Linked DNA regions of Homo sapiens: all the other regions are linked to region 4. Evidence: promoter capture Hi-C in 16 types of primary human blood cells and fetal thymus (Javierre and others, 2016). All regions are on one chromosome and are shown on one strand. Each heading gives the region's core, a stretch centred on a gene start or on the middle of the fragment in contact. The rest is flanking DNA. Distances are from core to core; before and after follow the strand shown.

Region 1 (3,169 bases), core at 174-2,673, 320 kb before region 4:
TGTAGAACTTGGCCACCAGTGAAACTGCTTCTCTTGCCATGATCCAGGAGCCATCTGCTAAATTGGGCAGCCTCTGCCACAATTGCTGGCTCCAGAACCATACCATGTGTGCCACAATCTTTCCCCACAAAATGAATAGCTCAAGAGCTGCCTGTCTCCCTACCGAACTCAATTCCAAATTCAAGTCTCCCACCAGTGCTACTGTTTGGCAGAGCCTAAAGCACATCTAGAATCTAGGAGCAAGGAGTCTGGAAAATAAAGTGTTTGCTTTCCCGACTCTGCAGTGGTGTGAGAAATTCTGAAAAGCGTTTGGAAGAGATGCTGAGTGAGCCAGTCCCAATATCTGCAATAAATATTAAACTGTACTGAGGTTGAACAAATAAAAAAGAAATAAAGCAATCATGAGGAAGCCTCAAGTAATATTGATTGTAATTAAGAACAAAAAATAATAATTGAGGTACCAATCGTAGATTTAGATTATGAAAGACACGGGGCACTTGGGAGTGAGATGAATATTTAACATTGTGACAGAAGCATATTGCCAAAAATCAAGTTATCATTTGGTATATTTGGAATGTCTCCAGGGGCTTTAAAACCCTTTTGCCTGCTCAACACACCTCCCTTTCCTCCTGTAAATGAATAATCACACTGCTCAGGCTCAGTCTGAGATGAACACAACACCTCCACTCTCTGGCCACCGCGATGAGGCCAAGGGCAAAGCCAGTCCAAGCAGACTCCCAGCCCAGGATTGTTCTGGCTGAAGCTAACAGGGAAGCCTCTTTTTTTTTTTTTTTCCTTTATGTTCCCAGCACTATATAAATATGGCCCTAGAGTTAATGGCTAAGTTCCCGCTATGGGTGATGGCTGAGAGAATAACCCCAAAGAAGAAAGAAAAGGAGGCTAAGCTTGAGAGGCTTTTTTTGTTGTGCAGGTTTTCTGAGTTCATCCTTAATTAAGGCCTGGGACTACCTCTTTCCTCCAGCTTTCTTCAACGCCCGAGGCATTCAGAATCCATGCCATAAATCCTCCCTCTTGGATAAAGATAGTTTTATTGCGGTGAGAATCAGTAGCGTTTAATTTTAAGAGTTGTAATAAACAAACCACAGTCTCAATCTTATAACCTGCTATTCCACTATTCACTTAAAGGAAGGTAGTGTCTTTTGTGTTCCATGAGAAAAGTGACATTTCTTTGCTTTCCCATACATTGAGGTCAACCTAAATTCCAATGAAGCCAAACCTGAACTGCATTTATTTATTTATTTATTTATTTATTTATTTATTTATTTATTTATTTTTGAGACGGCGTCTCGCTCTGTCACCAAGGCTGGAGTGCAATGGCATGATCTCAGCTCACTGCAACCTCCGCCTTCCAGGTTCAAGCGATTCTCCTGCCTCAGCCTCCCGAGTAGCTGGGACTACAGGCACCCACCACCACGCCCGGTTAATTTTTATATTTTTAATAGAGACGGGGTTTCAACACGTTGGCCAGGATGGTCTCAATCTCTTGACCTCGTGATCTGCCCGCCTCGGCCTCCCAATGTGCTGGGATTCCAGGCGTGAGCCACCACACCCGGCTTGAACTGCATTTTCTAACCAACTGACTTTATTTCAGTGATTTTGTAACATCACTCAATTTCAGGTAAGTACTCTCTAAGAACAGCTTCATTTGTCAGAAGCCTCATGGACAGCTGCTACCACCATATCATCATGTTTTCATCCTACAGACAATCATCAGCGGTGTAGACTGGTGAGTTCCAGCTATTTCACTAACAATGGGGAAGAACCAAAGAAAAATTGCTGTGAGAGGAGGAAGGCAGGAGAGCCTGTGGCTCCAGAGGGGTGTGTGTGTTTGTGTATGTGTGTTTGTGTGTGTGTGAGAGAGAGAGAGAAAATAAAATGTTTTCTACCAACAAAACTCAGGTGTGTTTCCTTTACTTGCCTTGAAGCTTCTTCAAAACTTGTTATACCGTAAGTTTGAAAAACCAAACACTTTTCCTAGGATTGTTTTTTTACGTACTAAGGACCAGATCAGATCAGCAATTAGAAGTATGACATACAAAATAATCACCCTCAAGGAAGGTTTAAATTAGGGATGAATTTCCAGTATTGACATGGATCTTTCCAAGCACCCTGCATATTCAGCACAGTATTCTAGTATTTTGTGAGTGAAGTCATTATTTCTTAGGACATCATCAAAAGATTGAGCGTGTAATAGACTTCAAGCACCTATGGATTTAATATTTACAATTTTGACTATTTGGGTGTGACCTGAAGGTCTAGCACTTGGGTAGTTTATAATTTTGCCGAGACGTAGGTTAGAGTTACATGAACAGATGCAAGAGAAGGAGTCACTTCACCCATATGTGGGCCAATGACTCAGAATCCACATCCCAACCCAATTCTGTTGTTCTCCATTTGCCATCACAGGCATATTCACTTTCTCAAGTGATAAAATCTCAACGGAAACAGCAAAAAAAGCTTTAAAATTTCATGAACATTCTTGAAAGGATCTCTCAAAGTTCTAAAAATCATTTTACTGCATTTTATGGGAGAAAATATATACTCAAGTATATATTTAATCTGGCAACTAACTAATCAGCATTTGCTTATTTGCCATTTAGCAAACAACATAGCTTAAAAAAAGACAAATGAAAGAAAATCTCATTTTCAGAATTAGTAGCAAGAATATGCAGGGTGCTTGGAACGTCAATACTGGAAATTCATCCCTAATTTAAACCTTCCTTGAGGGTGATTATTTTGTATGTCATACTTCTAATTGCTGATCTGATCTGGTCCTTAATATGTGAAAAAACAATATACTTCAGATTTGAATGTTGATAAACAGTCTTGTAAAAGTTTGCTGAAATCTAAACGTTACTAGTTTTCCTTAAACTGTTGAGGATCATATAACATCTACAACCATGTAATTTTTCAGTGAGTCCTATAAAATTGCTACTAATTCTGAAAATGAGATTTTCTTTCATTTGTCTTTTTTTAAGCTATGTTGTTTGCTAAATGGCAAATAAGCAAATGCTGATTAGTTAGTTGCCAGATTAAATATTTTTTTCTCAATCATGTTGGGTTTTGTGCCATGTTTGATATTGTCTGTAACCTCTTCTTTCTTGCATTTTCTCAGCTCCCTCAGATTCAGAGATACCACTCTCATAGT
Region 2 (3,092 bases), core at 326-2,825, 310 kb before region 4:
TTGATGTATGTGAACTTATACTGAGACAAAACTTTTACCTGTGGTCTAGTTCACAGTAAAATGAACTACTGGAAGAATAAAAAAAGATTTGAGAACTCAATCAAAATAAAATCAATCCAAATAAATGGTAGTGCAATTTGCTGAGTTTCTTCAATGAAGAAACATACACAATAAACCTGTGAATGTTATCACTGGAAGTGTTTGATGCTGTGGGAAGGAATAACATTTCTATTTCACTGTTATTACTAAATCATAATTGCATGGTGTTTAACCTCTACTGTATAAATCATCTAATGAGGATTCATTTCTATGTAATTTTTTGTTACACAAAGAAACACTGCATAATACTTACCCAGTAATAGGCAGTTTTTTAGACCCATTGAATCAAAATCTGATTTGGGGACTGTAAATTTACATTTTAAAGAAACACCCACATGATTCTTAGGCACACAACCGACTGAGAACCACCAGGATGAGGGCCTTTAGTATTTGTTGTGTGCTGTCCCTTTCCACATTTCAAAGAATACTAAGGGGCTGTTAGGCGTGTACTAGTGGCTGAGAAGTTTGCTTTCACAGTAAAGAAGGTAACACCATGACACTGTCTGTGGCTTAAGATAAAATTATGATATTTCTTGAGAAAGACAAAACTCTGCTGTTGACTGTCCTAGAAGGCTAAAAGGATAATTGGAGTTGTCGAGCTGGTTATGACCAAAGCTGCTTTAGAACTTCTTTGGAGTTTGAGTGATCCTTGCCACATGGTGAGATCTTCAGGGACCTGTCAAGTTCCTGACAAGAACTTGATTGAGGACAAGACACTGCTCCTTTAAGCCACATGAATTGCTACAAGGATCTTAAAATACACAAATGAAGACCAGGTAGAAGCTCAGATGCTGGTCTCAAATTCCAACCCTGTTGTCAGGATTTTCTGTCATATATCTTTTTAAAAACAACAAAGTAGAACATCCTTACATGTAGGGAAGTTTATTTGTACGAAATGATGTTAAAAAAAATTCCAGGTGCTTTTTAAAACAATTATTGCTGATTGTTTTGTTGTATATTAATAATACCTCTATGTGTTTGATTTTAAGTCTAAGTTTACAGTGTGTTTTCCTTCTGTATAACCATGTTTTACTGTACTATCATAACAAATTTACAGTTGTACAAACATGAATAAATCCTTCAAAAAGCCAGCAGTACGAAGGCTCACAAGTCGGAAAGGCCCATCCTACTTAGTAGGTACTACAAACTTTATCAACTGGAGCAGGGTCTTCAAAAGGAGGGGTTGGACCTCTGGGAAACCACAGAGGCTTTCCAAGGGACACCCAGGCAGACAGGTGGTTCTAACAGGGCATCAATTTCCTGAATTTCAACTGCAGGCATACTCTATCCAAACATGATCTGAGAACACTCTTGTGGTTTTAAGGTTATATGGGACCTCCGTTTCACCTTTGCTTTCACTTGACAAAAGAAGGAACAACTTCTCTCCATGGTTAATACTACTATGATACAATTTCTGAGATGAGAAACCTGCATGAGTCAGAGAGAAATGTGAAATAATATTTCTGGTATTGAAAAAATGAATGCCTTCAATGACCGGAAAACAAATCCTTTTACATTTCAGGGATTTTCCACCTCTTTGGTTTTTTTTTTTTTTTTTTTTCTGTTTTTTGTTTGTTTGTTTTCAAGACAGAGTCTCACTCTGTCACCCAGACTGGAGTGCAGTGGTGCAATCTGGGCTCACTGCAACCTCTACGTCCTGGATTCAAGCAGTTCTTCTGCCTCAGCCTCCCAAGTAGCTGGGACTACAGGCCTGAGCCACCACACCTAGCTAATTTTTGTATTTTTAGTAGAGACAGGGTTTCACCATGTTGGCCAGGCTGGTCTCGAACTCCTGACCTCAAGTGATCCCCCCACTTCAGCCTCCCAAAGTGCTGGGATTACAGGCGTGAGCCACCACGCCTGGTCCACATCTTTGGTTTTAACAAAATTAAAGGGAGACCTAACTAGTAGATCATTAAAAATACTTTTTGATGATAGGTCACTATGTGATTTTTGGCATATTAGTGGCAAGGAGTTCAAATAATTGAGTGACATTGCTAAAACAAAACTCATTTCATCCCCAACCACCAACTAATATAAATAAGATTCCTTAGCACTTACATAAAAATAATTTAAAATAGGAATAAAACTGATGCTGAATCCCAACTTATTCTAGCAATAAAGAGCCATATGTGGATGCATCCATTGAAAAGCAGGCCTCATTCTTCTCCTTAAAAGATACGTCATGTTAAATAATGTATCAAAATGTGTAATGTACTTACCTTGTTTTGATTAATTGGGTATCAATAAAAATTATAATGATAATGCAAATCAGAAGATTTTTTAAATAGTTAAGCCTTGAGGTCACTGAAAATTAAATTTTTATTTATATTTCAATTTTCATACATATTTCTGTTTCAAAAAATTATGATGTCATAAGGACTTTCAATCAAAATATATTAGGCTAAAATTTGGGAGAGAAAATGAATTGGAGAGGAAGGAGGAACTTCTAACTATTTAAAAAAGAACATGTTCATCTTTTTAGTGTAGATATGTAGGCATCAATTCCTCATGATAGTCACATTCCACTGGACACACTTTAAAATGTAGTATGAGTTTTAAATGTCAATATTTATGATATGCCAGGAATTATATCATTTACAACTATTAAATGTATAAAACTTTTAGATATTTGAAATTTAGATACAGAGATAACATTTTTAAGTGTTGGAAGGGTACATAGTTTTTCAAAGTTATTGTACAGAACACAACAGCAAACAAACCTACATTAGGTCAGTAGTTATATGTTAATGAAGCAGGAAATTTCCCCGACCCCTTCGTGGGCGGGAACTGGAGTGCACGGGCGCTGGACCCAGGCAGGAGCTTCAGCCAGGGTGAATTCCACTCACTCAAACCCACTGCGTTCTACCCCTCGTGGGACGGGGAGCGCAGGTGGGTGGTGCAGGAGCCGAGGCGAGTGCCTTTGGGCGCCACCAGGAGCAAAACTCTGTAGGTGCCATGGCAGCGTCTAGGGAGGTACCTGCAACTCCTGA
Region 3 (3,099 bases), core at 22-2,521, 360 kb before region 4:
CCATTCTTCTTTGAAACCAGAAAGCATTTTCAATCTGATCCCTTTTGCTTTAACCAAGATAAATAGCAAAAGAAACAGCACTTTAATCCTACACATTTTCACATTCCTCCTTGAATTAACTAGTAGTTTCCAAAATAAATTACCTGTTTTTGTTTTTAGCAAAAATCGATGGACCATGTCGGATTTGCTGGTGATGAATGTCAATGGAACATGCCACAGGTACCTAAAATAAAGGAGAGGTGGATTGTTCATTTGTTGATTCAATTCAACAAGCAGTTATTAAATCACCTATCATGTGCCAGGCACTGGTTAGTTTAGAACAAGATAGTACCAAAACTGCTACAGCCAAGCTCTCAAAACATCCCCAGTCTGTTTTCCAGCTTTGTAGGGAGTGTCAGCTCGGGCACTATTTCCTTTTCTTGGACTCCTTGAGTAGAGCTAAGAATTTGGACTCACGTGAACCCTGAAAGCCTTTTTACAGTGATTGGCTGATTGCATCTCAGAGGCCTAACTTCAGGACTCATGTGCCTCCTGAATAGTATATTAGGAAGGACACAATATCACCTCCTTGGGATTCCTGTCAATGATATGTAAGCTGAACCTGATCATGGAGAAACAGCAGAAAATCCAAACTGAAAGGCATTCTATAAAATAACTGGCCAGTACTCTTCAAAAAATGTCAATATCGAGAAGCCCAAAAAAGACTGAAGAGTTGTTTCAGAAAAAAATGGAGACCAAAATGATGCAACAACTAAATAAAATAAGTGATCCTGTATTAAATCCTAAGTCAGAATTTATTTTCTATTTTGCTATAAGGATATTTTTAGGACAATTGGAAAAAGTTGAATGGGATTTATAGATAATAGTATTATATAAAGTTTATTTCCCAATTTTGATAATTGTACTGTGGCTATGGTTATATAACTGAATGTTCTTGTTTTTTGTTTGTTTGTTTTGAGATGGAGTTTCGCTCTTGTTGTCCAGGCTGGAGTGCAGTGGTGCGATCTCGGCTCACTGCAACCTCCACCTCCTGGGTACAAGCGATTCTCCTGCCTCACCCTCCTGAGTAGCTGGGACTACAGGCGCCCGCCACCATGCCCGGCTAATTTTTGTATTTTTAGTAGAGATGGTGTTTCACCATGTTGGCCAGGCTGGTCTCGAACTCCTAACCTCAGGTGATCCTCCTGCCTCGGCTTCCCAAAGTCCTGGTATTAAAGGCATGAGCCACTGTGACCGGCCATAAATGTTGTTTTGTAGAAAATACTATGCTGAAACATTTAGGTGTGAAGGGGAATCATGTCACCAATTTACTGTCAAACAGTTCAGAAAAACATATGCCAAGTATATACATACAGACATATGTATATAGGTATGTATGTAGATAGATGGATATCGATTAATCAAGATTTAAAACCTCCTTAATCCTTTTGGGAAGATGGGGGAGGGAGGTGTATATATTATATATATATATGTGTGTGTATATATATACACATATATATGTATATATACACACACACATATATCCACACAAACATATACATATATATATAGAGAGAGAGAGAGAGCAAGAGAGAGAGGGAGGTGAAGAAAGTAAAGGAGTAAAGAGTTAACATGTATCTAGGTAAAGGATATATAGGAATTTGTTGTGTTATTCTTGTAACTTCTCTATAAGTCTGAAATTGTTTCAAGATAAAAGAATTTTTTAACGGTATCCATCCAGGGTCAATCAAGTTGCAGCATCTTGTTTCTAATAATATTCTTCTATAGCATTAAGCTGACAAACAGGTTCCAAATCTAACTCAGAAGAAGACAACTGAGTCTCTCATCATTCTCGGAAATCACCTAAATTCTTTTGTCCTCAGCTCCAACCAAATGCTAGGCACTATTGTAATCTAGTAGCAGTTGCTTAGGTTGGAGTTGATTTCAAGCCAGTAACCAGAAATTACCATCATATCAAATTACAAAATATGAGAATGTTAAAGTAATTACATCGTCACCTTTACTGAGAATAACCAAGGTTTAAAGCCTCCTTAATCCTACTGGGAAGATGGGGGCAGGGAGTATAAGTCAACTTCATAGGATACACAGATGCAGCTGAAATATTTTAGCAATAGTGGTAAGGGCATTATTTCAAAAGCAAGGTTCCATCCTACAAGGCAGATGTTACCTAGACAACAAAACAAATTTTACTCTAGGAGCATTACCCAGTGTCCGGGGCGCCGTCAGAGCCCTTCATGTAGTGCTCTTGCTTCATGTGTACATTCCTCCCCCTCACTGTGATGGTTATTAGGGGAAAACCCTTCTGCAGTGTCCAAGTGTTCATCATGGTTTTCACATCCACCCCTTCCTGATGCCAATGCTGGTGTGTACACAAAAAGGCAGACACATCACCCATTTAACCCAACTCTAAGAAAAGAGAGAACACCAGCTTATGCTCAAACAGCCGCTACCAGTTGCCAACCTCCCCTCTTAGGAGCACTTTCTGATCCCTTTCTCAGTGTGATGTCCCCAGCCATCACACCTCCATTAGAGCACCAGCTGTTTGCTTGTCATTTTCCTCCACTACACATACGTGTCTGGAGGACAGGTAGCATACCTAGTTCTGCCGGGCACACTTTGGGGCTGGCAATAACACTGGGCACAAAGCAGGCATGTGAATGAATGAAGGAAGAGAAGGGAGAGAAAGTGCCAGGTTTTCAATACCTACCTAACTATGCTGGTTTTGGACAAGCAAGGTGGAAACAATGTTCAGTCAAGAGCCTGTGTTTCTAAAGTGAGAACACAGAGATGACCCACACTCAACAAATAGTGGGAACTCAAAAGGAGCTGTTTTTTGATACTAAAAAAGCTTTTAAGAAATGATTTAAGAAGTAGTAAAGGCTGGGCGCGGTGGCTCATGCCTGTAATCCTAGCACTTTCGGAGTCTGAGTTGGGTGGATCACCTGAGGTCAGGAGTTCAAGACCAGCCTGGCGAACATGGTGAAACCTCATCTCTACTAAGAATACAAAAATTAACCGGGTGTAGTGGCGTGTGCCTGTAATCCCGGCTACCTGGGAGGCTGAGGCAAGAGAATCGCTGGAACCGGGGAGGCAGAGGCT
Region 4 (3,343 bases), core at 352-2,851:
TCTTCTTTTCTAAACTGTAAACAATCGCAGCAATTTAGTTCAGCTAAAAAATGAGCTATACAGTTTCACATTTGAACTTATTAAGTTTTCAATGGGCCAGTGAAAAACGTCCCCCCTATTTTTTTTTTAACTGCTTCCCCTATTTAAATGCTCAGCATAAGAACCCTGGTCCTATACAATTTATCCAAAGCTTGGGCAGCCCGAGAGCCCTTTTATCCCTCACTAGTGAATCAGTTCTATTGTAGGAGAGAGACATTCTTTCCTCCCCTTTTCGCTTAAAAAACATAACAAACCTGAATAGACTCCAGGCTAGAGTAGTGGAGAGAGTGATTTTTATTAGATCTAACATAGTTATTGGCAAATGCCTAAAGACAATATTTAAAAAGAGAGCTAGAGAAAGAAAAGGCTTTCACTTTATGCCTTAAAGGACAGATTGGTTACAATTTAACATCTAAGAGGAAAAATTTATAGAATTAAATGGCCTAACATTCCTCTTTCTTCAACATACATATGAGAAATCTAAGCTAAGAGGACATCTGGAATGGAACGTTATTCAGCAATCAGAAAGCAAAAATTCAAACCATTGATGTTTTGATGGAGACAAACACAACTAGATTCACAAAGAGGAAAGCTGCAACCTATTGAAGTTAAAAAAAATTCCATATGCATTTTACCTTTTGGGCAGTTCTATTTCAGAAGCCCTTTGTAATATGAAACCCACTGTAGATAAGATACAACATGAAGATAGTCTGTTTTGCAGCAGCAGGAAATCAAATTGGTTCCAGAAACGAAGTTATATGACAAATGGTTTAATAGTATTGCTAGAATTGGAAATCTTGATTGAATTATTTTTAAATCATTAAAAAAAAGATTTTGAAATAACTTTGCCATGCTGTATAAATTGGTGATGGTGGTAGGGGGTCCACACAGGGAGTGTTGCTGAGGTTAGGAGGCATCTCATTTTATTGGCCTTTTAACTAAAGCATTATAATCTGTTATCAAAATTTAAAAGTTCAGTGGTGATTTACTGTTAATTCTGGTTTGCAACAAATATTTTCAGACAAACACGATACTTGAATTAACATAGCTAATATGTGTTGTGGAGTATTAAACAGGTTAACAAATATTGATATATTCTAGTATCATTTCCAAATTATTTTTAGGTTTAATCTCAACACCAGTCAGCTTTGCTTTACTTAAAAAGCATCAGAAAAAGTTCATTAAGTCTTAGGCAGGTCTTGGATTGTAGAAGAGACTTCTAAGTAGTTAGCAAGATGTATCACTGACAGAATAACCCAGTGCCTAATGCCTGTAGGTGAAATGAAATCGTTCTTCTGGCTGAAGTCAGGAACAAGTTAAAATATCACTTAGAACACAGCATACGACTGCAGAGATTTAGGAGAAATCTTACTTAAATAGGATGTGACTTGACGTTTAGGACTATTTTCTAAAAAGTCAAAAAACTTTTCCCCCTTCAGTACTTACAGTCTTTGAAGACTAGAGCCGGATCTCTGTGAGGCAAGACTTGGGCAATGATGTGTCTCAGAGATTCCAAGGTTCTGTCCATCTTGGGTCTGCCTGTGTGAGCCTCCTGTACAGAGTGTCCTCATGCCTGAATTCTTGCAGTCCTGGGCTGAATTTCTGCAGCTCATTGATGCACTGGATTACCAAGGAATCCCTTTTAACATCTGCCAATCAGACATTTCCCAGAATCTAAAGACCCCTCAGGGGGCCCTCTTCCCAGGCTCACTTATCTTTGTTGTATGCTGAGCTAATTAGCTCGAAAGGCTGGCTGACAGGCGGGTTCCCATTGCTTTCTTCTGTTAAACACACCCACCTACAGGCTAGCTGGGGAAGCTCGCTAAATTATGAAAACAGCTTTCCTCTCCAACCAGATTTTGTCTGAATGCTGTGCAGCTTTCTGACTTGAGTATTTCTTCTGGCCCTCCATCTTCAATTGTGTTGCCCCCAGGAATATGGAATCAGGAAGGTTATTTCTCCAGGAAATTTCCTGAATGACAAGACAGCTTCCAGCTCAGGACTGCCAGCTATATGTTAACAGTATAATCCCTATAAATCTAAATTTTCAGTGTAATTCTTCTTTGGTAAAGGAGTGCTATAAAGATTATGGGGCTGGGTGCAGTTTATCATGCCTGTAATTCCAGCACTTTGGGAGGCTGAGGCGGGCAGATCGCTTGAGCCCAAGAGTTCCAGACCAGCCTGGGCAACATGGCGAAACCCTAACTCTACAAAAAATACAAAAATTAGCTGGGTGTGGTGGTGCATGCCTGTGATCCCAGCTACTTGGAGGGCTAAGGCAGGAGGATGGTTTGAGCCTGGAAAGTCGAGGCTGCAGTGAGCCCAGATTGTGCCACTGCACTCCAGCCTTGGTGACAAAGTAAGACCCTGTCTCAATTTTTTAAAAAAATCTTTCAATAACTACCTTAAGAAACATATATGTATTTTCTCGTCCTGTTTCTTTGTTTTATTTTTCTTTTTAATAGGGTCTCATACTGTCCTCCAGGCTGGAGTGCAGTGGCGTGATCATAACTCACCGCAGCCTTGACTCAAGTGAGGGGCTTGAGCCCTGGACTCAAGCAATCTTCCCATCTCAGCACCCCAAGTAGTTGGGAGGCACACGCCACCACGCCTGGCTAATTTTTAAATTTTCTGTAGAGATGGGGTCTCACTGTGTTGCCCAGGCTGGTCTCAAACTCCTGGGCTCAAGCAATCATCCTGTCTGGGCCCCCAAAGTGCTGCGATTACAGGCGTGAGCCACTGCACCCTGCCCTGAAATTTTTAATAATTATTAAGTGAAAGGAAGTGAATTACATCAGAATTAATTAAAGTCAACCTTGGGAATGATTCACTTTGAAGGGTAAATAGGGAAACAAATGTTCCCAGGCAAGCTGTAAGACAGTCTGTCAGGTTTTACTTGCCCCTGCCCAATAGAAGTGACTAAAATTTGGGAGGGTTGTGGGGGGTAACAAGCCTTGGCTTCCAGAAGAGTGGCTCCTGAATTCAAATGCAAGGCTTAATTTAGTCCCTAGCTGTATCCTTTTTTTTTTTTTTTTTTGAGACAGAGTCTCACTTTGTCATGCAGGCTGGAGTGCAATGGCATGATCCGGGCTCACTGCAGCCTTGACTTCTCAGTCTCAAACGGTCCTCCCACCTTAGGCTTTCTAGTAGCTGGGACCACAGGCCCACGCCACCGCACCTGGCTAATTTGTGTATTTTTAGTAGAGAGGGGGTTTCACCATGTTGCCCAGGGTGGTCTCAAACTCCTGGCCTCAAGTGATCCACCCATCTCGGCCTACCAAAGTGCTAGAATTACAGGCATGAG
Region 5 (3,337 bases), core at 286-2,785, 420 kb before region 4:
ACTCCCATCCAGTCTCACAAGACAGTTAAGTGAGCCTCCCACCTCAGCCTTCCAAGTAGCTGGGACTACAGGCGCGTGCCACCACACTCAGCTAATTTTTAAATTTTTTGTAGAGACAAGGTCTCACTACATTGCCCAGGCTGGTCTCCAACTTCTGGACTCAAGCTGTCCTCCCATCTCGGCCTCCCGAGGTGCTGGGATTTCAGGTGTGAGCCATTGCACCCATCTGTACATTGCTTTTTAAATAATAATTGTTGAATAGGCGGGTGAGTGGAGAGTAATTTCTATTAAGGAACTTTTCTCTGCTTCTTGTTACTCTGACTTGTGCCTTAATTCAAGTTTATAAATGATTACTAATATTTGGGATATTAAGATAGGTACATGGGTCATTTGGGAGGGGTAGTATTTTGATAGCAGCACTTTATACTCTGATTTACAGTATTAATTCTTTAGAGGTATTTTGGTGTATATGAGCACTGATGGTTGTGCTTTAAAATTGGCAGCCCGTTGATGTTAGCAGGACCAGCCAAGTGGCAGGCACTGCAGTAGAGGGACCTGGGTTAGAAGTCAGATGGCCAAGCTCCCAGGCCTGGCGTACACAGCTCGGAGGGTCCTCGTGCAGAGAGTGCTCCTTTCCAGCCTGAGCGATCCCTCCTTATCCTCCAATCACCGCATGACAGGTCACATTATCAGAACTGCCTGTCTCAACTATCCCCTGAACTGCTATGGTTCCCTCATCTACATTCTCATGGAACCCTGTGAGTTTCCTTTGTAGCAAATAATTGTTGGGAGTGATTATTTCTACTAATGCCATCTTTGACTAGGCTATAGCTTTCATACGGGCAGGGACATGCCTACTGGTTTTACCTCTGTGTCCCCAGCACCTGACACAGTACCTGGCACAGAGCATATTCTGGATAAACACCTGGGGGAGCCAATGAACTCTGGTAAAATCTTGGACATGAGATTCCATTTTTCTCACCTGTTTAAAGCCTGTATATTAAAGCTTGTATTAAACTTTATCACTAAGGTGCTTTCTCTTTGAAGATCTATGGATTAACCCTTCACAATTTTTTATTATAAATGTTATCCACATCAATGATACGAAATTCAAACAATGCAAAAGAGTATACAATGAAAGTGTATTCATTCATTCACCAGAGATTACAAATATTGAAAGTTGCTTGTCTTTACAGAGAGAATAAAAATTGAACAAGCTGTAGCCAGAATCGAATGGATTAATAATGGGGTGGGCATATTCCCTACTTCCAGCTCCCATGAAGCAGCTTTCATATTTCAGTTTTAAAATGGTTAGTGCCTTAGTGAGGGAAGAAAACTTTCATGCAGTAATCTGTGCTGCCAACAGGGGCCAAGGCCCTCAGCTAAATTCCCACTACACCCTGCGCCATTGCTGATTTTCAGCTGTTCTGTATAGAGATTTTACTGTTCATGGGGGCCCTCTGAAAGTTTTCTCCTTTCTGGAATTTGAGGATCACTTCAAGGTATTGTTTAATAAAGTAACAAGGCAGGCTGGACAATTCAAGGCAATGTGATTTTATGGATGATTTAATACATTTGGATGTGTGGAAAATATGTCTACCTAAAGATTTTCAGCTTCAGAAGCACTTTCACATAGAGTGTTTGGTTTCTGTGTTGGTGTTGCATGGTTGAGGGGAATCATTAAAGGAATGGAATGCAGCTAAGTGGAATTTCTTGAGTTTGAATGGAAATCTGTATAATCAATTCCAATTATGGAAGGATAGAATTACATAAATACAGGGACATTAAGCACCATAATGTTTTAAAATATTTTCAAGGAAAAATATGGATATTCATATATTTATCCATTAATTTGATAGAGGGAAAATCTGTCTTGGTACATCTTACAGTTTTCAGTACCAAAAAGAATATGAGAGAGGCCCTTCCATGCCCTGCTACAGTGACTGGGGCTTCTTGTATGTGTGCGTGTGTGTGTATTTTGGTGGAAGGGAGTGTCCAGTTGGTGCCTAAGGGTTCTCAGGAATAGTTATGTTTATATGATTATTTTTGAAAAATAAGTATACTAAAGCTTTGGATTTCTGTCTGTAAATTATGATAGTTTAACTACAAGCATCAATGTGTTCTGCATTAACTGAGGTTTGTGGGGAAGGTGATTTTGTTCATGGGCCATAGACTATAGTGGGTTTCATACAATCACCTTGAGTGGTAGTGTATTGGGGGTGGGGGAAGGTAAGGGAGAAGCAGGAATGGGCTCATGCTGCCCTGTGACTCAGCCTCTGAAGTGGCTCTGGACCAGGCATTAGGGACACAGTGAGGTCCATCTTACAGGCTTCCTTCCCTGGGTGTTGTTGGCAGGGTAGCAGCTGTTTACTGACAGTCAGTTACTTAAGAAGGCAGCTCATGCCAGATGGAATCCCTGGGTTCTAAAACCTAATGGACTTTAAGTGTTAAGGAGGTTTAAATGAGTCTGGGTAGGAGTTTGCAAAGATTATAATTATCTGTTTAATATTAACCAGTGTAATACAAGTTAAGTACTAGAATAGTACTCCAAACCATACAAGTATCCACACACACATCCCAGTACTTAGATGACTGGATCACAGGGGCTGATTGCACCACTGCAAGCATCTCAAGGAAGGGTGTTCCTTGAATAGTTACTATTTATCACCTCTTGCCTTCTAAGGAAGAGCCTAGATGAGACATAATGCAGTAGAATTCCCTCTGTAACCTTGTCTCCACCTTCTCTTTCTTACATGACACTGAACGGACAGTTCACATCCACCCAAGTCTATTTACGGGAGTTTTGTCCTTCTATCTTATGTATTAGGAATAACACACTGGCAATTTAATGAGCATCTGCAATTTGCCAGACATTTTGCCACACTATCTCAAATACGACCCTGCAAATAGATGTTACTGTACTTTGTATGTAAATGGACCTGGAAGACAAAGCTCAAAGTCACAGAGCTTGTAACTGACAGAGCTGGGGCTTGAACAAAATTTTGTTGAGTTGCAAAATCCATGTTTTTTCTGAAAATAACATAAACAGTAATTATAATAATATTTACTGAGCATTCATTATGTGCCAGGGAGTAATTCTAATAATAAACTTACAAGGTAGTTGTTAACTACTAAAGAAAAATTGAGGTTGGGAAACTGGAGATTATAAAATTTAAGTATCTTACCCGAGATTGTTTAGTAAATAGCAGACCCAAATTTTGAACCTATTTGATCTGGTTACAAAGGCTTTCACTACTGGACACCACCTCCTACTAGATTTTTGTGCTCTAAACTGGGTAAAACCAAGGTAAAGGGCCAAGGGCAGTATGGTTAAGAG
Region 6 (3,074 bases), core at 117-2,616, 450 kb before region 4:
ATAAAACTCATAGAAAATTTTCAGCAGCCACTAAGTCTTCTCATGTGTACCAACCAGACCCACTGGGGTTGCCCTGCAGAGGTCAGTCTGTTCCATTGCTACCTGGGCAAGGACTTTGGGCCTCTCCCTTTAGAGCCAGGATTTTCAACCTGTGGGTCACAGTCCTCAGGATATGTTGTAACTCATTTAACCCTCAAAATCACCTTCCGAGGTATGAGCAGAGTTATTCACCCTGCTCAGAAAACTGGTGTTGAGAAATGTTCAGAAACTTGCCTAAGATCTCATAGCTGGCATTTGGTGGAACAGGACTCTTGCTATATAAATCATAAGATAGAACCATTATCCTAGAGAATGTGGTGCCTTTCTTCACAGAGTCATGAAGTCTCAGGGTAAAACATGTGGCTTCACTCAGGGAGCCTTTTCTAAGATTTTAAGTGACAGTGACACAGCAACTCTTTGCCTGGCTCTTGGAACTTCATTGTTATTTTGAAAATTTTAAAGACTCGAGTTCTGATTGACTCAGTAAAAAATTTTTTCTCTGAACTACAATAGATATACAAAAAAGTATGCAACTAATTCTTTTCATGCCTTCTTGCAACAGATGGTGCAATATCATATAAAAATGAGCTTGTTTTGAGAGTTTCTACTTACTGTGAGTAGATGAATTCTTTCCTCAGGGTGGATCCAGCCCTATCACTAGTTAGTGAGTATGCAGATCTAGTGAGCTAAGAGATCTGTTCAGGGCAGGGTAGAATTTCTAAGGACTGATGCTGATGTTAAGGAGTATAAGTGTGAAGAGATACCAACAAAACTAAGCACAAGGTGACATGAAGCCAGAGGACGTTGAAAACCTTGCACCTGGAGGCAAGGGAGGACTCAGGGGGTCAGGTAGTAACCTGAGAAGACTAGGAAGCAAACCAGATCCTGGAAGAAACTGATGATCCCAAACTCATGTGACTATAGGGCTATTCTGATCCCACATCACTTCAGAATAAATATTTGATCCTGCATTTTGTTTCATCTCATACCATACATGCCTGTACCCAGCATGCTTTGGCTGCACTGGCTTCTTTCTGCTCCTCCTGCTTACCAAGCCCATTCTTACCTCAGGGCCCTTGCACGTGCTGCCCTGTCTACCTAGAATGCCTCCTTTCCCTCATCCCATATATACACGATTGGTTTCCACACAGCAGTCAGGTGTTAGTCAAATGTCACTTCCTCATCCATCCTGTCTGAAGCAACCCTGAGCCAATCACTCTCTGTTACCTCATCCCATCTCACAGTCTGTTCAGGACTCACCATTCTCTGAAGTCATCTTGTTTTTTTGTTGACTTACTTAAAGGCTGAGTCTTTCTACTGGAATGTAAGTGCCACGAGGGCAGGAGCTTTTTCTGTTTAATTGGTCATTATATCCCCATTGCCTAGAATAGGACCAGGCTCATAGTTTTCCCAATGAATGAATGAACAAATGAATATGTGAAGTCAGACACAAATGAAGAAAGGGGGCCAAAACAACATGTAATTAAACTCTGATTACCAATCTGAAAGTAAGGAGTCTGCTCTGTATATGGGTGCATTTCAAGGCTTTTGCATTGTATTTTCAGTGCCAGATGTCAACAAAGGGCTTAATAAATACTTGTTAGATAAAAATTTAATGAAAGATGATTTTACATATTCCAGTCTCACTTCAGCTGAACTACATTGGTCCTTTGTGGACTAAGTAATCCAGGCAGCTCTGAGAGCAAGCCAGTCTTTAGGGGAACAGATCATACCCACAAGAAAGTTGAGGGAGCCTCCGTTAAGTTAAAAAACATTTCGTTTATTAGTAAGTCATTTTCAGCATATAAATTAAGTTTAAACAGTCATTATTTTTAACTTAATAGTTTCATCACAGCCAAAATACAAATTTTTAAATTCTCATTGGCAGATCCTAATTGGCATATTGTAAGTAGTGGAATCCATTTATAGACTTTAAGTATGTGGGCTTTGATGTAGCGAATGGAATCTGTAATTAGCCCAGGATTGGAACATGGCCTTCCTCAATTGTAGCTAAGATCAAAAGCTAATAGCTGGAGTTTGGGACAGCTGTGTCACATTGAAAACAGACCTAACCTCCTTCAGTTTCCTCGCTGGAAAATGAGAGGTTGAGATAGGTAATGAAGTTGAAATGGATAATGCTACTGCTGTATTCTTGTCTTTATGTCTTACGTCCAGTCTTTTACACAGAATCCATTTGTACATTAAGGTTGTCAGAAGCTATTTGTTATTATTTGTGATAATTTAAAAAAGACTAGCAATCTGGATAAAATGTGGGTTATCCCCTCCTTTTACCATCTCACATATCACACCTGCATCACTAGCTTCTTAGCAGCCTCTTTTGTTTTTATCACATTTATCTAGGTTTTTTTCTTTCCTTGGTTGATGGTAGTAAGTGTATGCTTGGGAGAGACTATTTATTCTACAGATGATGCCTGGGAGCCTGAACTCCTGCAAATGCCTGTGAGGCCCCCTAGAGTGGTTGGCGAGTGGACACATAGAGATTGTGCTTTGAGGACAGCAAACTAAGTTTTGATTTTGGGGCATGCTAAGGCAAAATTTACCCTGAAGGGAAAGAAGACTTCAGTTCAAACTTCCATGGCATGCATTTTCAATAAATTAGAAAATATAAATTTGGCTAAATATTTCTTCTAAATATTAAAGAATGAAACCAAATTATTCTCAATTATACATATAAAATATTTGTTGCATAGACATAGAACACTTTAATGTGTTATATGCTAGCTAATTTATGCATTATCTTGCCTTGTGTATTCAATATTTACAGTACATTATTCACACTTTATTGACCTTGGAGCATATCACCATTTTACATTATAAAGCTTTATACTTGGCCAGGCACGGTGGCTCACGCCTGTAATCCCAGCACTTTGGGAGGCTGAGGCAGGCAGATCACGAGGTCAGGAGATCGAGACCATTCTGGCTAACACGCTGAAACCCTACTAAATATACAAAAAATTAGCTGGGCGTGGTGGCATGTGCCTGTAATCCCAGGTACTCAGGAGGCTGAGGCAGGA
Region 7 (3,327 bases), core at 349-2,848, 370 kb before region 4:
TTCATTCTGCATATCTGCTATTTTGTATCCTTTGACCTATATCTCTGTTTCCTCCTCCTGTTCCCTACCATGGTCGCCATGTTTTATTCTCTGTGTTTTTGAGCTTTTTCTTTTATATATATTCTACATATAAGTGAAATCACTTTTCTTTCTGTGTCTGGCTTATATCATCTAGTATAAGGTCTTCCAGGTCCATCCATGTTGTGACAAATAGTAGGATATCGTTTTTTAAGGCTGAATAATATTCCATTATGTATATATACATGACATTTTCTTTATCCATTCATCAACAACTAGGTTGTTCCATATCTTGGCTATTGTGAGTAATGTTGCAGTGAATATGGGAGTGCAGATATCTTTATAAGGTGATAATTTCATCTCCTTTGGGTATATACCCAGAAGAGGGATTACTGGGTCATACAGTAGTTCTACTTTTAATTTCTTTAGGAACCTATATACTGTTTTCCATCATAGCCCATACCAATCTACATCCCCACTGACAGTGTACTAGGGTTCCCTTTTCTCCACACCCTTGCCGACATTTATTATCTATTGACAAGCTCTGTTTTGATTAGCAAAATAAGGTCTGGGTGAGTCAGGCACCACGGGAATTAGAGCATCAATGTCACCCACATTTCCCTCCTTATTTCTATCCTTTTTCCCTCCTGCTTTAAACAATTCTCTGACACCGTTGTTCAAAAAAAATCATGAAAAAACACCCAAAGTCTTCCATTATTTAATTAAATTGGAGATCTCAGAATGGTCTGGATTAATTTAACTGCAGCCTAGTTAATTGCTAGATGGATTGGTGATAGCCATAGCCTCATTACATTTCCTTTGCTTTAGGATAAGTGCAAGAAGGCTGCTTCCAGCTCCAAAGCACCTAAGAATGGAGGTAAAGCGAAGGATTCAGCAAAGGTAAATGGAGCAGTAAATATACTACAAATTAGTTTAGCAGTTACACAGAGTAGGGTTTATCATTTCAGTCATTTAGTTTCCTACTGGAATCTATTTAGAATAAAATTTCTTAAAGTACTATCTATCCCATAGCATCGCTTGGTAAAGTAATTGAATTTGTATAAATACATATATTTTTAAGTAACTGGTGCTTTAAAATCCTAAATGAATGTTCTTGACACAACCCAATTTGCCTGTGTTTTGCCTGTCTTTCTTGCCCTAATTAAAATACCACCATAGTATGTGGTTTATATAGATTTTAGAACATGGAAGTTGGAAACTTCCTATTATTAAAATTACTCAAGCTGTGATGAGAAATGAAAATTGGATTAGACAACTTCTAGGTCCCTTCCAATTCCAAGAACATATGATTTAAATGATTATTACTATGATCCCCTGGCTATAAGGAGGAGTTAAAGGTGTAGCTTTAAAGACAATAGTCCAGTTACACCAAAGCTTTTAAAACAATATATTAAAATCTTCCTGTAGTAGATTCCCTTAAGGGATATAGGAAACAGCATTGATAATTGGCAGTTATGCCATTATATCTCAGTTTAAATACTTATTTGCCTATTATTTAATTTCAGTTATACGAAGTACTTAATCAGCCCTTTAACAAATAATAGAAAGCATAATAACCCTTTATGATGAGTGGATTTACTGGACAGCCATGACCCTATGTACAGGAAAGGAAGGATCACCACAGAATGAAACATTGCCATTTAAGAACACCTATGCATATTTTATAACCTACCCTAGCCTTAAAAAAATAAAGCTGAGAGTGATACATTTAGGATCAGGATCACTTAAGGTTATTTTTAGCTTATAAGCTTGAGGAGGAAGAACTCACAATATTGTGGCCAGATGAAGAAGAGAAACTGAAAGGACCATCTTATTTTTCCCCACTGACTGCCATCTTTTGTCCCCTAATTCTGAGAAGGCCATCTCCTCATACTTAATACAGAAAAGAAAGCTCACGGATGGTTTTGCTTTCCCTTTTAGACAACAGAGGAAACTTCCAAGCCAAAAGATGACTAAAGAAATACAAGTTAAGGTATCTGGTAAGTTGGGTGTTTATTTGTAAATGAAGACAACTGTATCTTCTGCCAATTTATGTGTTATAGATGAGAGAAGTGAAGTCCACCTCTTGAGTAATTCATGCTCACTTTACAGTATTGGCATGAAATGCATACTGCAAGATCTACAGAGTAATTGGTCATTCTCTGAAAGCACTAAATGGGATGAGTTTGCTATTGAAATGTTTAAAAACCTTAATCTTATAATTAAAAGCTTTTAAAAATATTAGGCCAGGCACTTAGAATGACCATCTGAGGCTAGTTGAATCTTTGAAATCCAAATGCTCATTACTGCAGGTTATTGTGGCAAAGCAAAATTAGCATGTTACAACTTAGCGAAATGTCCTGAAGACATTGGCATTCCCCAGAATACCAATACATGGTGGGGTGGGGAGAAGTACCCTTTAGAGTCTGGTGGAAATTACAGGGTTTTGGGAACAAGGGCAAAGGAAAAGATTGGCCATTTTTATTTGTCATTATTTTGGAAAGTAAAGTACTGTGTTTGATTCTAATTTATAATTGCTGAAGAAACTGGACAGATTGAAGGGATTTCTGAGATCTTCAGAACTGGGCCCTTATCTTAATCTTCAGAAAGGAGAGGGCTTAATGTAAGCCTTAAAAGCATACAAGCACTTACTGACCAAAGCCTAAAAGAAATCAAAGTATAGGTTAAATCGGGTTCAGCTCTCTCACCATGATCCATGTTTATTTCCTAGGAAAAAAGGAGCTATATTAGGTAGAACTGCTCTAACATTTTTCCCAAAATTAAAAAAAATTCTATTAATCCACTTTCATGTTTACTTATAGGAAATTCCTTCTGTCTGTTATACAATGCTTTTGCTAAGTGGTATATTTACTATGTCTGTAACAAGAAAATTACATATTAAATGATTCACTGCATTTTTTATTTGAAATTTTTAAGGTATCTGCATGTAAAATCTTCAGCTGGTGGATGGTGACTTTTGAAGAACAAAAGGCTTTGGCAACAGAAAACAATTGTTCTGGGTGATTTCTAGAATGGTTTTTGTTGAGTCTCTGAACATCCTAAATATTGGTTTGTTATTCTTTTCCAGAAAGAAAATGAATTTGACTGGTTCACCTGTGTACTGAGTATTGATAAACTTTGAATTTTTTTAATTGCCTTCAATTGGGAGAGAAAGCTTTATATTTGTAAGAAATATATTTGATAAAGTTTCTTAAAGCAACACCAAAAAAACAAAAGAAAAGCTAAGTGAATTTTTGCACATTCTACACACAGTGCCTGTAAATCTCATTTGTATTTTCAGTTTGCCCT

What was found. The method cuts DNA at HindIII sites, captures the fragments that hold promoters and counts their contacts. A CHiCAGO score of 5 or more calls a contact.
Region 1: a fragment that was not itself captured here is called in contact with the fragment with the promoter of LIX1 in region 4 in 4 of 17 cell types (total B cells, erythroblasts, fetal thymus and 1 more); the score reaches 6.7 in total B cells.
Region 2: a fragment that was not itself captured here is called in contact with the fragment with the promoter of LIX1 in region 4 in 6 of 17 cell types (naive B cells, total B cells, total CD8 T cells and 3 more); the score reaches 6.9 in naive B cells.
Region 3: a fragment that was not itself captured here is called in contact with the fragment with the promoter of LIX1 in region 4 in 13 of 17 cell types (erythroblasts, total B cells, fetal thymus and 10 more); the score reaches 10.3 in erythroblasts.
Region 5: a contact is called between a fragment that was not itself captured here and the fragment with the promoter of LIX1 in region 4, in 12 of 17 cell types (naive B cells, fetal thymus, neutrophils and 9 more). The highest score is 10.0, in naive B cells.
Region 6: a contact is called between a fragment that was not itself captured here and the fragment with the promoter of LIX1 in region 4, in 3 of 17 cell types (megakaryocytes, fetal thymus and neutrophils). The highest score is 5.5, in megakaryocytes.
Region 7: a contact is called between a fragment that was not itself captured here and the fragment with the promoter of LIX1 in region 4, in 11 of 17 cell types (total B cells, naive B cells, megakaryocytes and 8 more). The highest score is 11.1, in total B cells.

Annotation. Positions count from the first base shown.
Region 1 is chr5:96,817,648-96,820,816 of GRCh38, forward strand. It overlaps a transcript of ERAP1 not described here. Among named protein-coding and RNA genes, the nearest start is that of ERAP1, 11 kb to the left of the region's middle. The HindIII fragment of the contact is 1,041 bases long and covers 904-1,944 here.
Region 2 is chr5:96,834,537-96,837,628 of GRCh38, forward strand. It overlaps a transcript of ERAP1 not described here. Among named protein-coding and RNA genes, the nearest start is that of ERAP1, 28 kb to the left of the region's middle. RefSeq lists a silencer at 1,443-1,492 and enhancers at 2,490-2,991, 2,992-3,092. The HindIII fragment of the contact is 3,530 bases long and covers 1-3,092 here.
Region 3 is chr5:96,786,327-96,789,425 of GRCh38, forward strand. It overlaps ERAP1 (endoplasmic reticulum aminopeptidase 1), which reads right to left. Exons shown (of 19, transcript NM_001040458.3): 11 at 2,205-2,359; 12 at 144-223. It overlaps LOC124901031 (a long non-coding RNA gene), which reads left to right. Exons shown (of 2, transcript XR_007058877.1): 2 at 1-780. Among named protein-coding and RNA genes, the nearest start is that of ERAP1, 20 kb to the right of the region's middle. The HindIII fragment of the contact is 3,150 bases long and covers 1-2,846 here.
Region 4 is chr5:97,141,010-97,144,352 of GRCh38, forward strand. It overlaps LIX1 (limb and CNS expressed 1), which reads right to left and starts at 1,602. Exons shown (of 6, transcript NM_153234.5): 1 at 1,486-1,602. The coding sequence starts at 1,567. RefSeq lists an enhancer at 1,549-1,618. The HindIII fragment of the contact is 8,667 bases long and covers 189-3,343 here.
Region 5 is chr5:96,719,233-96,722,569 of GRCh38, forward strand. All of the region lies in intron 3 of CAST (calpastatin), which reads left to right. Among named protein-coding and RNA genes, the nearest start is that of CAST, 59 kb to the left of the region's middle. The HindIII fragment of the contact is 1,062 bases long and covers 1,005-2,066 here.
Region 6 is chr5:96,691,467-96,694,540 of GRCh38, forward strand. All of the region lies in intron 2 of CAST (calpastatin), which reads left to right. Among named protein-coding and RNA genes, the nearest start is that of CAST, 31 kb to the left of the region's middle. The HindIII fragment of the contact is 3,022 bases long and covers 1-2,877 here.
Region 7 is chr5:96,769,685-96,773,011 of GRCh38, forward strand. CAST (calpastatin) reads left to right here. Exons shown (of 32, transcript NM_001750.7): 30 at 847-918; 31 at 1,960-2,018; 32 at 2,956-3,327. The coding sequence ends at 1,995. It also overlaps a transcript of ERAP1 not described here. Among named protein-coding and RNA genes, the nearest start is that of ERAP1, 37 kb to the right of the region's middle. The HindIII fragment of the contact is 374 bases long and covers 1,412-1,785 here.